3 separate regions of the Homo sapiens genome follow, and regions 2 and 3 are each linked to region 1. Evidence: promoter capture Hi-C in 16 types of primary human blood cells and fetal thymus (Javierre and others, 2016). All regions are on one chromosome and are shown on one strand. Each heading gives the region's core, a stretch centred on a gene start or on the middle of the fragment in contact. The rest is flanking DNA. Distances are from core to core; before and after follow the strand shown.

The links. The method cuts DNA at HindIII sites, captures the fragments that hold promoters and counts their contacts. A CHiCAGO score of 5 or more calls a contact.
Region 2: a fragment that was not itself captured here is called in contact with the fragment with the promoter of PHTF1 in region 1 in 3 of 17 cell types (M1 macrophages, M2 macrophages and erythroblasts); the score reaches 7.2 in M1 macrophages.
Region 3: a fragment that was not itself captured here is called in contact with the fragment with the promoter of PHTF1 in region 1 in 1 of 17 cell types (M1 macrophages); the score reaches 7.4 in M1 macrophages.

The regions. Positions count from the first base shown.
Region 1 is chr1:113,757,531-113,761,760 of GRCh38, forward strand. PHTF1 (putative homeodomain transcription factor 1) reads right to left here and starts at 1,956. Exons shown (of 19, transcript NM_001323043.2): 1 at 1,493-1,956; 2 at 1,129-1,203; 3 at 169-225. The coding sequence starts at 1,173. RefSeq lists silencers at 596-725, 1,359-1,678 and an enhancer at 1,829-2,408. The HindIII fragment of the contact is 13,975 bases long and covers 1-4,230 here.
Region 2 is chr1:113,117,274-113,121,076 of GRCh38, forward strand. It overlaps LRIG2 (leucine rich repeats and immunoglobulin like domains 2), which reads left to right. Exons shown (of 18, transcript NM_014813.3): 17 at 1,960-2,250. Among named protein-coding and RNA genes, the nearest start is that of LRIG2, 46 kb to the left of the region's middle. The HindIII fragment of the contact is 1,406 bases long and covers 1,107-2,512 here.
Region 3 is chr1:113,095,288-113,099,081 of GRCh38, forward strand. It overlaps LRIG2 (leucine rich repeats and immunoglobulin like domains 2), which reads left to right. Exons shown (of 18, transcript NM_014813.3): 7 at 587-730; 8 at 935-1,078; 9 at 3,418-3,498. Among named protein-coding and RNA genes, the nearest start is that of LRIG2, 24 kb to the left of the region's middle. The HindIII fragment of the contact is 681 bases long and covers 2,026-2,706 here.

The sequences.
Region 1 (4,230 bases), core at 706-3,205:
CAAAAATCAAGTGTCACTTCTCATTATGCTTGCACTGCTTTTCTTATAACCTTCAAAGATTAAAGAATGCCATACTGGTAGTTAAATGCAGAGTTTACCAGGTAAGTACAATTCCACTCTTCATATTAATGCAGTGAAACATAGGCGGAATCAAAGAAATCAATTTACCTTAATCTGAGTCTGTTCGATTGACTTTTCCCATATCTGCTGATCGTAGGCTCCAATCTGAAAGAGGGAGTAGTCTATTAGTTAAACGATGCAAAGGAAATCCTTACATTATTAAGTCAAGCCTCATAAAAGTCATGAGCCTATTAAGTATCAATATGCTATGTGGAAAATATGCTTCTCAAAAGTTAGAATAAATCAATACTTCGAAGGACTGTTTCCTTCAAAAATCTAAAATAGCTGGACCTAAAAGTAAGTTCAAAAGCAATGCCCAAAATATTTCAAATTAATATTACCTTAAAAGATATTTCCACTTCTTGGGCGGGCATGGTGGCTCACGCCTGTAGTTTGAGACCAGCCTGACCAACATGGTGAAACCCCGTCCCTACTAAAAATACAAAAAATTAGCCGGGCGTGGTGGTGGGCGCCTGTGATCCCAGCTACTCCAGAGGCTGAGCCCGGGAGGCGGAGCTTGCAGTGAGCCGAGGTCGCGCCATCGCCCTCCAGCCTGGGCAACAAGAGCGAAACTCCGTCTCAAAAAAAAAAAAAAAAAAAAAAAATCCACTTCTTAAGGAAAAGAGCACTAGAAAAACTAGAGAGGAATAAAAGATAAGGAACAGCTCAATAAGATTGTTGATAGTATCAATCTGAGCTGTGCACATACAGGTTTCATGTCTTTTTTGTTTTTAAGCAGTTTGATCAGAAGCAAACTTTCAAAGCATTGCGGTGGCATTGTGTATGCAGCCTGAAGGAGGTGGCTTGTAAACCTTATTCTGGGACCTGGAACCGGGTTTAAAAGACATAATGACCTTGTACATCTTTTTTTTTTTTTTTTCATTTATGTTGAAGTATACATGAACACCTGGCACTACTAAACTCGGGGGAAAGTAACATTATATTATTTGTGGGAGCTTTTTGCAGGAAGAATGCTTTACAAATAAAAAAAATATATATATGTATTACCTTCTTTTGGTACCACGATATAGCATCTCTCTCATTTGAGGCCATCTGTGTCTCCAGCCAGAGAATGGGATTTCACTGAAAATGAAGGAAAACCAATCGGTGAGTCCAGCTGCTGAAGGTTACTCTCCCAGTTTGGGTAGGACGCGAAAACCGCTTCTCTCAGCCTCTCCATGAGCTGCTCTTTCTCCAGCTGTTTGCCAGGGAAAACACAACAAACAAACAAAAAAAAACTGGCGCAGCGGCGACCGGAGAAGCCTCTGCAATATATCGGGCGAGCGTGTTCGTGGGTGCGGGGGAGGGGCAGGGGCCGCCGCTGGAGTCGCCCGGCACCCGCCTCCTTCGCTCGCCCGCGTCCGGCTCTCACCTAGTGCCCGTTGCCCCGCGGGCCGGCGCCCGGGACCTCCGTCCTCAGTGCCCGGGGTCCCACCGTGAGGCCGGGGGCGAGGCGGCGGGCCAGGCAGGCCGCATCTTCCCCTCCAGGCGGAGACGCCGGAGAGGCCGTTACCATGGAGACCGCGGAGGCCGCCCCAGCTTCGGAGGCAGCCGGCCGCCCAGCGCCCTGAGGGCGGCAAATCGATCGCCGGTCAGAGGCCGCCTACAGGGTCACGGACTGACCAGAAAATAAGCAGAGAATGAACTGGAAAATGAGGGGGATTAAAAGTGAAGGCCTCCAGTCGCCACGGCGACAGCAAAAGGCTTTGTGCCCAGCTGGAAAAGACAGGTGCAAAGGCCCCGGACCCCGAGAGCCCGGGAGCCCGGGAGGAGGAGGCGGCGGCAGCGGCGCTCGTCTTCTGCGGGCCGCGCCGGGATGCAGTGACTCAGCCGTCTGAGATCTGGGCTAGAGCCGCTCAGCCGACCACCGGGCAGCAGCCTTCGGCTTCCGCTTTCCGGCTTTCGCCGCCGAGGTGGCTCCGCCCCTGGCCCGGGGCCTTCCCGCCCAGCCTTGGTCCAGGCTCCGGGTCCGAGGGCCTGGGGAGTCGCGCGGCATATCGATGGCCAAGAGCAGCTCCCTCAGATCACCCTTCAGGCCTCAGCTTAAAAGTCACTTCCTCACAAACGACTCTCCCATCCAGCGGTCTAAAGGAGGTCGGTCCTGATACTCTAGTAGCTCACGTCTTTGTGGCACTCATTTTCGTGTTTCATGGCTTAATCTCTGTTCCCCAGTGGGCTGTGGGCTCCATGAGGTCAGAGACTGGGGCCTGGCACAAGCCTGGCACTTAGGTTCCCAATGTTTGTTGAGCGAACGAATCAATGTTTGCGTGAATTTACGCTGCCCTGGGAGGAAGGGCCAGGCTGCGGCTTAGTGACTCCCTTCCTCTCCCGCCCCTCAGCAGCTCTGGGTCTGGAGCTTTCTAGTGCTCAAAGGTGTAGGGGGAAAAGAGGAACAAGTATTGGGCAGTCACAGCTTTTTCCAAATTAGGGTAAAGTTAGGTGGCGGCAGGAACAGGTTAATTAGGGCCGATAGAGGTCAGGAGAAAGGAAAGAAAGGTTGAACCCTCAAGTGAATATTTAAGGATACGTTAAAAGGATTTTTAGGCTGCTTTTTTTTTTTTTTTTTTTTTGGCCATTAATGGAACACTGTCCCCTTACAGCCATTCTCCCCACCTTATTTGAAGCCGTGTTCTTGCTAGCCCACAGCGTGTAGCATCTGGGTCAGAGAAAGCTAATGACAGATGATAGCTTCACTTAAGAAAGCCTAAGAGGCGCTGTACTCAATGTTTTGCAGACATTATTTCTTCTTATCTATTGAGTGGGCACCAGGTGGAAGTTATCCCATTTCACGGATGAGGAAAATCGACTAAGCTAAAATAACTCCCACAGGACTAAGTTTTACAAATTACTTCACCCAGCCTGGGCGCAGTGGCTCACGCCTGCAATCTGGGCGCTTTGGGAGGCCTGAGGCGGAAATGTAGCTTGAGCACAGGAGTTTGAGACCAGCCTTAGCAACATGGCCAGACCCCGTCTCTTAAAAAAAAAAAATTAGCCGGGGGTGGTGGCGCGCACCTGTAGTCCCAGCTACTTCGAAGACTGAGGCAGGAGGATCGTCTGAGTCCACGAGTTCGAGGCTGTAGTGAGCTATGATTGCACCACTGCACTTCGGCCTAGGCAACAGAGACCTGTCTCAAATAAAGTAAAAATTATTTTACCCTTATTTTTATATTGCACACATTGGCAGTGGTTTCCTTCTGCTTTTGCTCCTTGACAGCTTTTCCTTTCCTTAGTGCTAAACATTACAATTCTGTTGAGCTTCAAGACAAATGGCCAACTTGAAAAAAGAGATAAATGACAAGTGAAAAACGTCGAATTTTGCACACGTAAATATTTAACCTCAATTACATTAATAGCAAAAGTACTTTACTTCACTGTTTGGCACACAGATTTTCAGGGAGTGTCTGGAGGAACTGAATCAGGTAAGAAGTATTAGAGAATAGTGGTAAGTAGTAAACCATTTTTCAGGTGCCCTGTTGGAAACTATTCAGTGCTTCCTGCGGCTACCAGCGAACAAGGTCTGAATCCTTGCTCCCAACCAATAATCTGTGATCTTAAGCAATTTATTCAACTAACAAGCCTGTTTTCTCACCTGTATTATGGAGATAGTCACCTTCTTAAGGATGTGAGGATTAAATGAGAAACCCTCATATAAACTGCCTGGCCCATGGCAGTTACTCAAAAAATGTGAAGTCCCTTTCTTTTCCTTTCCTAGACAGAACCAAAGGCTATCAGTGCTTAGGACAGGTACCTCAATTAAAGATAACTTCACACAAAAACTGATGAGGAAAGAAATCCATTTTGTTGTGTCACATTAATACATCAATGACATAAAAGTCTATACGCCATCTTCATTAATACTCAATGCACTTTCAAGAAAATCCACATCACCAGAATAAAAATTTAAGACTGTCCTCTTTTAAGTAGATACACACCAATTTAAGCAATTAAGAGGCATTAACTACAACAAATGTCAAGTGTATTTTTTCTTCTTCCCCCAAACTAATTGCATCTCAATATGGATGGAATTTTCCCCAGACATCTTTAGGAAAGAAGTCATAAGATTTTCTAAAAATTTTTTTTGAAGTAGTAGGGGATACAGTAGGTGAGGGA
Region 2 (3,803 bases), core at 560-3,059, 640 kb before region 1:
TAATTTTTAAATAAAGAGACAATAATTTGTAAAGCACTTCCCCCAAGATTCTCACAGATCTTTTCAGCAAATCTGTGTGGTACTTCAAATACTATACAAATGGAAGATTTATTCCATTTCTTCAGAGACTTTTTTAGGCTGGGTGTCAACAGAACTTTATCTAATTGATAAATTGGATTTTGGCTTTTCATGAAAAATATAGTAGTTCTGACTCTTTTTTTTGTTTTTGAGAAAGCGTCTCATTCTGTTACCCAGGCTGGAGTGCAGTGGCACGATCTCAGCTCACTGCAACCTCCACCTCCCAGGTTCAAGCGATTCCTCTGCCTCAGCCTCCTAAGTAGCTGGGATTACAGGTGCGTGCCACCATACCCGGCTAATTTTTGTATTTTTAGTAGAGACGGGTTTCACCATGTTGGTCAGGCTGGTCTTGAACTGCTGACCTTGTGATCTGCCTGCCTCAGCCTCCCAAAGTGCTGGGATTACAGGCATGAGCCACCGCACCTGGCTGGCATTTCTGACTTTTAAAAGAATACTTAAAAGTCTGTTCTTTGAAGTATGTGGGAAATAACACTGCTTTCTGGGTTAAACTAAATTACTTTTCACTCTCTTCCAATTCTAACATTCTGTTGCATGATTTTTTTTTGTTTGTTTTTTGGTTTTTTTGAGACAGAGTTTCATTCTTGTCACCCAGGCTGGAGTGCAATGGCACCATCTCAGCTCACTGTAACCTTTGCCTCCCCGGTTCAAGCGATTCTCCTGCCTCAGCCTCCTGAGTAGCTGGGATTACAGGCACCTGTCACCATGCCCGGCTTATTTTGTATTTTTAGTAGAGATGGGGTTTCACCATATTGGCCAGGCTGGTCTCAAACTTCGGACCTCAGGTGATCCACCTGCCTCGGCCTCCCCAAGTGCTGGGCTTACAGGCATGAGCCACTGCTCCTGGCCTGTTGCATGATTTTGAATAAGTAACTCACTCTTTATTTCTCACTCTCTCTTCTCTCCTTCATCATTCAGTTTTCAAAGCACATAATAATCCAGGGAGTTCATTGTTAAACCTATACTTCTGTCAACCATGTACTTGTCAGGCAGGACTTCTCATTGTCAGAAGCTTTCCCTAGGGATGCTTGTAGCAATTGGTGTTACTTAACCTCTTGACTCATTAAAGTAACATGGTTTTTCATGAAGTGAAGTCATCATAACTCCTTATTCTCTGACTTAGTTTGCTTAAGCCAAGCATGTGTCTTGTAGCACAGTACCAGCCTTATCTTGCTCCCTTGATTTGGGCATGATCTGTCTATCCACAATAGACAGAGATGGTTCAGTGTAGTTTTCAAGAGCATGGGCTCTGGAGCCAGAATGGCTGTTTCTGCTCCTCACTCTGGCAGTATGACTTTGTTTTTTTTTTTTTGGAGACAGAGTCTCGCTGTGTCGCCCAGGCTGGAGTGCAGTGGCGTGATCTCGGCTCACTGCAAGCTCCGCCTCCCGGGTTCACGCCATCTTCCTGCCTCAGCCTCCCGAGTAGCTGGGACTACCGGTGCACGCCACCACGCCTGGCTAATTTTTTGTATTTTTAGTAGAGATGGGGTTTCACCGTGTTAGCCAGGATGGTCTAGATCTCCTTACCTTGTGATCTGCCCGCCTCGGCCTCCCAAAGTGCTGGGATTACAGGCGTGAGCCACCGCACCCGGTAGCGGTATGACTTTGGTTAAGTTACTTAACTTCTCTGTGCTTTAGTTTACCCTATCTGTAAAGTGGGGATAATAATAATACCTACCTCATAGGGATGTTGTGAGGATTAATGAATCAATTCACAGAAATGGCTTGAAACTTCACCTACTTTATAAAGTAAGTGCTCAATACATGCTAGCAATGATGATGACAACTTTTGAAGAAAACTGACGATTGGCAAAAAATAATTCCTTAACAGAAAGATATTTAGATTCTTTTTCTTGTTATTAGGTGGCACTGGTACCCGGGTGATTTGCTCAGATTGTTATGACAATGCCAACATCTACTCCAGGACCCGAGAATACTGTCCATACACCTATATTGCTGAGGAGGACGTTCTTGATCAGACACTGTCCAGCCTCATGGTCCAAATGCCTAAAGAGACATATTTAGTACATCCTCCCCAGGATACTACTGCCCTAGAGAGCCTGATACCGTCAGCCAACAGAGAGCCATCTGCCTTTCCCACCAACCATGAGAGGATAAGTGAGAAGAAACTTCCCTCCACACAGATGAGCGGTGGTAAGGGATGTATTTTTGTTGTTATTTTGTTTTTACTTTCGTCTAATTGACTCTTCCTTCTATCATATAGGTAGTGCTCTCATTTGACAGGAAGCAAGCAGATGGGTATATAGGAGTAACTGGCCATTGTTAAATGGTATAAACTATAGCCAGAGATTTCTGCATACTAGAGTTACAAAGAAGTCTTCATCTATAGGATGGAAACAACTTTTGTGGGGGTAACAGGATCACACTACTGAAAATTCAGAGGCCATACACAAAAAGCTTTTAAAAGGTTTCATACAGGCTATTTATTTATTTATTTGAGACAGAGTATCACTGTGTCATCCAGGTTGGAATGTAGTGGTGCAATCTTGGCTCATGCCAACCTCTGCCTCCCTGGTTCAAGCAATTCTCATGCCTCAGCCTCCCAAGAAGCTGGGACTACAGGCGTGCACCACCACACCCAGCTAATTTTTGTATTTTTAGTAGAGGTGGGGTTTAACCATGTTGGCCAGGCTGGTCATGAACTCCTGACCTCATGTGATTGCCTGCCTTGGCCTCCCAAAGTGCTGAGATTACAGGTGTGAGCCACCGCACCCGGTATCATATAGGGTATTAATTTTTCTCCGATCTTTATTTAAATAAAAGAATAAAATATGGGGGGCCGGGCACAGTGGCTCACGCCTGTAATCTTAGCACTTTCGGAGGCCAAAGCAGGTGGATCATTTGAGGTCAGGAGTTTGAGACCAGCCTGGCCAACATAGGGAAACCCTGTCTCCACTAAAAATACAAAAATTAGCCTAACATGGTGGTGCATGCCTGTAGTCCCACCTACTCGGGAAGCTGAGGCACGAGAATCACTTAAGCTCGAGATGGAGGTTGCAGTGAGCTGAGATCGTGCCACTGCACTCCAGCCTGGGCAACAGAGTGAGACTCTGTCTCCAAAAAATAGTAATAATAAAATTTGGGCATAATTTGGTGATGGTTTTTACTGAGAAGATTTTTTTTTTTTTTTTTTTTGGGAAATGGAGGTTCGCTCTTGTTTCCCAAGCTGGAGTGCAATGATGCCATCTCGGCTTACCAGGACCTCCGCCTCCCGGGTTCAAGCAATTCTCCTGCCTCAGCCTCCTGAGTAGCTGGGATTACAGGCATGTGCCACCATGCCCAGCTGATTTTCTATTTTTAGTAGAGATGGGGTTTCTCCATGTTGGTCAGGCTGGTCTCAAACTCCCGACCTCAGGTGAGCCACCCACCTTGGCCTCCCAAAGTGCTGGGATTACAGGCATGAGCCACTGTGCCCGGCCTACTGAGAAGTTTTTTTTTTTTTATTTGAGATGGAGTCTAGCCCTGTTGCCCAGGCTGGAGTCCAGTGGCGTGATCTCAACTCACTGCAACCTCTGCCTCCCAGGTTCAAGCGATTTTCCTGCCTCAGCCTCCTGAGTAGCTGGGATTACAGGCATGTGCAACCACAACCGGCTAATTTTTTGTATCTTTATAAGATGGGGTTTCACCATGTTGTCCAGGCTGGTCTCGAACTGCTGACCTCGTGATCTGCCTGCCTTGGCCTCCCA
Region 3 (3,794 bases), core at 1,116-3,615, 660 kb before region 1:
AATGTTTTGGCTAATGAAAATTACCAGAATTTATCCAAACAGGTATACTATACCACTTGGCCTGTTGGTTTTGTAGAGCTCCTATTTTAGACAGTCTTACTACCTTCTAGCACTAAATCTCTTTTTTTGTTGTCGTTGTTGAGATAGAGTCTTGCTCTGTTGCCAGGCTGGAGTGCAGTGGCACAGTCTCGGCTCACTGCAACCTCTGCCTCATGGGTTCAAGCGATTCTCCTGCCTCAGCCTCCCGAGTAGCTGGGACTACAGGCGCGCGCCACCGTGCCCAGTTAATTTTTGTATTTTTAGTAGAGATGGGGTTTTACCATGTTGGTCAGGGTGGTCTTGATCTTTTGACCTTGTGATCCGCCCACCTCGGCCTCCCAAAGTGCTGGGATTACAGGCATGAGCCACTGTGCCCGGCCAAGCACTAAATCTTAAATAAGATATTCATTTTTATTGAATAGAATTGGTCAGCTCAGTTGGGTTGAACAAAGGTATATGCTTCTCTGGGAAAAACTTAAGATTTAAAGCTAGTTATTGAACTGCCTTGTTTTGGAACGTATTTTCTTCTCTTTCTCTAATTCTGCAGAGAACTGGAACACAACAACCTTACACGAGTAAACAAGGGGTGGTTGTATGGCTTGCGAATGTTACAGCAGCTCTATGTGAGCCAGAATGCTATTGAAAGAATCAGCCCTGATGCATGGGAGTTCTGCCAAAGACTATCCGAACTGTAAGTGTTGGATAGCATTTCACTGGAGGCAGTTAAGACTAGAGCAGATTGGAATAAATCATTCCCATGGGCAGTAATGAGATGTAACATCCCTCTTTACTAGAAATTTGTAGAAAGCTCTAAATTTACCATGTAGATATAATAAGAATTGTAAGTTGAACCAAATACAATGAATTCCTTACCTTCCACATTTCTTGTTTTCAGTGATTTGTCCTATAACCAGCTGACCCGCCTGGATGAATCTGCCTTTGTGGGTCTGAGCTTATTGGAGAGATTGAATTTAGGAGACAACAGAGTCACTCATATTGCTGATGGTGTATTTAGATTTCTTTCCAATCTTCAGACATTGTAAGTATATCCATTCTCCTTTTTGGTTGTTGTTACTGATTTTTTTAGTACAATAAAGCAAATTAATTAAAACAACTAATCAGTCTGCAAATTCTGTATGCTAACATTTTGTGGTTCTTCTGTCCTATGCCTCAGAGCAAGGCAGTCTTATTTGTCTCCATCCCCATAAAAATCCCAAGCCTGTCGTAGGCAATTCAGTTTGTAGTTTAATTCTGAGTTAATCCCATAAGCATCAAAGCATGTCTTATTGTGTTAGTTGCTGTGGAATAAAACACAGTTGCTAGTGTCAGGAGAGCAGTCATTTTCTTGTTCCTTTGACTTTGACAATACACCAGAGCTACTAGTTCTCATTCGAAAGGATGCAGGTTGTGTAGTGGGAACTGCCGTGGTAGGAGACCAGTTCACTGTTACTGGTTTGCTACATGACTTTGGACAGAAGAAACTAATACTTATTATCTGATATGTGCCAGGTACTTTCAAATACTAGGATGATACTGCTGTTTTCCATATTAGGAGGCTGAGGTTCAGAGAAATTTAAATAATTTTCTCTAAGTCACATAGCTTGTAAATGTTGGGCCAGAATCAGATCCCAGGTCTGTTTGATGCTAAAGCTCATGTCCATTTTATCATACCAACAGAAGAACAAAATCACTTAGCTTTTCCTGGCCATCATTTTTTTTTCTCCTTTATACGGTGAAGGAAGGATATAGGATTAGATGGTTGCTAAAGGCAGTTTCCACGCTAAAATTCTGTGGTTCTGTAAGTTATTCAATTTACAGAATATAAGAATGTGTTTTTGTGAACTTTATATATTTATATATAAATATATCTAATTTTAGAATATAATTTTATTAAATGAAGAGGTATTTTAATGAAATATAGTAATCTCAAACACAGAGCAGAATAAAAGAAAACAAAGAGTAATTAGTAGAATTTGTAGATTCTTAAGCTTCCTGAATAGAGGACTTTGTGGTCATTAGGTTTCGAGTTGAAATGGTTCAGAGAAGAGGCAGGTTCCCAACTTGGAGACATAACCATCAATGAGAGGGAAAACAAGATAATTTTGTGAAGGGTATATACATGCACAGGTGTGTATTTGATTTTTTAAAAAATTCCTTTAGATTTGGCCTTGAAAAATTAAAAGTGATTGTATTTTTCCTTTTCCTATATTATCAGAAGTGAAACTGGATCAATGCAATCTCAGAAACTTAGATGTAGCTGCAGCCTTTTGGCAGTTGAAGGGATGGCAAATAGGTTATTTTAGTATACCACTGATTATTACTTTTAGAATTAAAGTTTTGGGAAGTAATAGCAGAAGTAAATGGTTGTGTAGTGCCACAGAGATAGTTAAGACAGAGTTAGGATCAAATCTGGGGAATTCTGGCTTTAGCCTCATGCTCTTGCCAGGGTAGATACAGTTCTTAATTTGTTGAATGGTTTCTATTTATGCTGTGCTGTGGAGGAGGGGGAAAATCCTGAAGAGTTGAGCCATTGGTTCTTTCATTATTTATTCCTTAGTAAAATAAAATGAGCTTTATTAGCTTTTCACTTAAAGAAAGCTAAGTGAAAACAGGGATCTCCTCTTTACTGCTAATCACACAACTCTACATGTCCCTTATAAAGTAGAAAGCTTTGTGCTTTATTATGAGATGACTTAAGGAAGCAAAAGCGATTAAATATTTTTAATTATATGGAAATAATTCTTTTATCATAACATGATGTGGTACAATTGCATTTCCTCTGAGAATGGAACAGTGAATTTTAGGAGATCCATACTTTCCCTTTGAAAGAAAATCTGATGACACGCTAACACATGGGTTTATCATTTTTGCTTCCCATGGGGCATCTTTAATTGCTCTTGAGCAATGAAACTGTATTGATATTACTCTCTGTCAGCCATTGTAAGTTCAAGGTCCCAGAGGAAGGCTTGGGTCACCCAGAAATCCCATTAATCTGAAATCAGATTTATAAGCCATATACCCTGCATCTTGAAACCCTCCTGCTCTTTTCAGGACCCTGTTTATAATTTTTAATATGCTAACATAATGAAGGGCTCTTTGCTTGGAAGAGTAATACTTTTAGCAGGTTGCTTTATTTACCAAGGCCAGCTTAATTGTTAGCTTATAAGAATCAGTTCTTACGTGTTTATTACAGATATTTCTTACGTGTTTATTACAGATATTTCTTAAGAAGCAGAGTTGAGCCTTCATCATAAATAACTGTTAAAGTAAGGATCAGAATTAGCATGTGTACCTTGACATCACCATACCAGGATACTGCTCAATGTTGTGATGGTTGTATTGACTAATAGCACCTGTCTTTCTCTGACATTTTTGTAGAGACTTAAGAAACAATGAAATTTCATGGGCCATAGAAGATGCTAGTGAAGCCTTTGCTGGACTCACAAGTCTCACTAAACTGTATGTATTATAATATTTATGTATGTCTACATAGGCATGTTTTCAAGAACCGGCTGTAAATATGATTGAATTATGTTTATTTCATATGGCTACAAAGTCTGAGCTTTCTGACACTCTGGGAGCTCTGTGGGGTTTCTTTGTTTGTTTGTTTGTTCGTTTTTTTGAGACTGAGTCTCACTCTGTATCCCAGGCTGGGATGCAGTGGCACGATCTCGGCTCACTACAACCTCTGCCTCCTAGGTCCTGGTTCAAGCAATTCTCCTGCCTCAGCCTCCTGAGTAGCTTGGATTACAAGC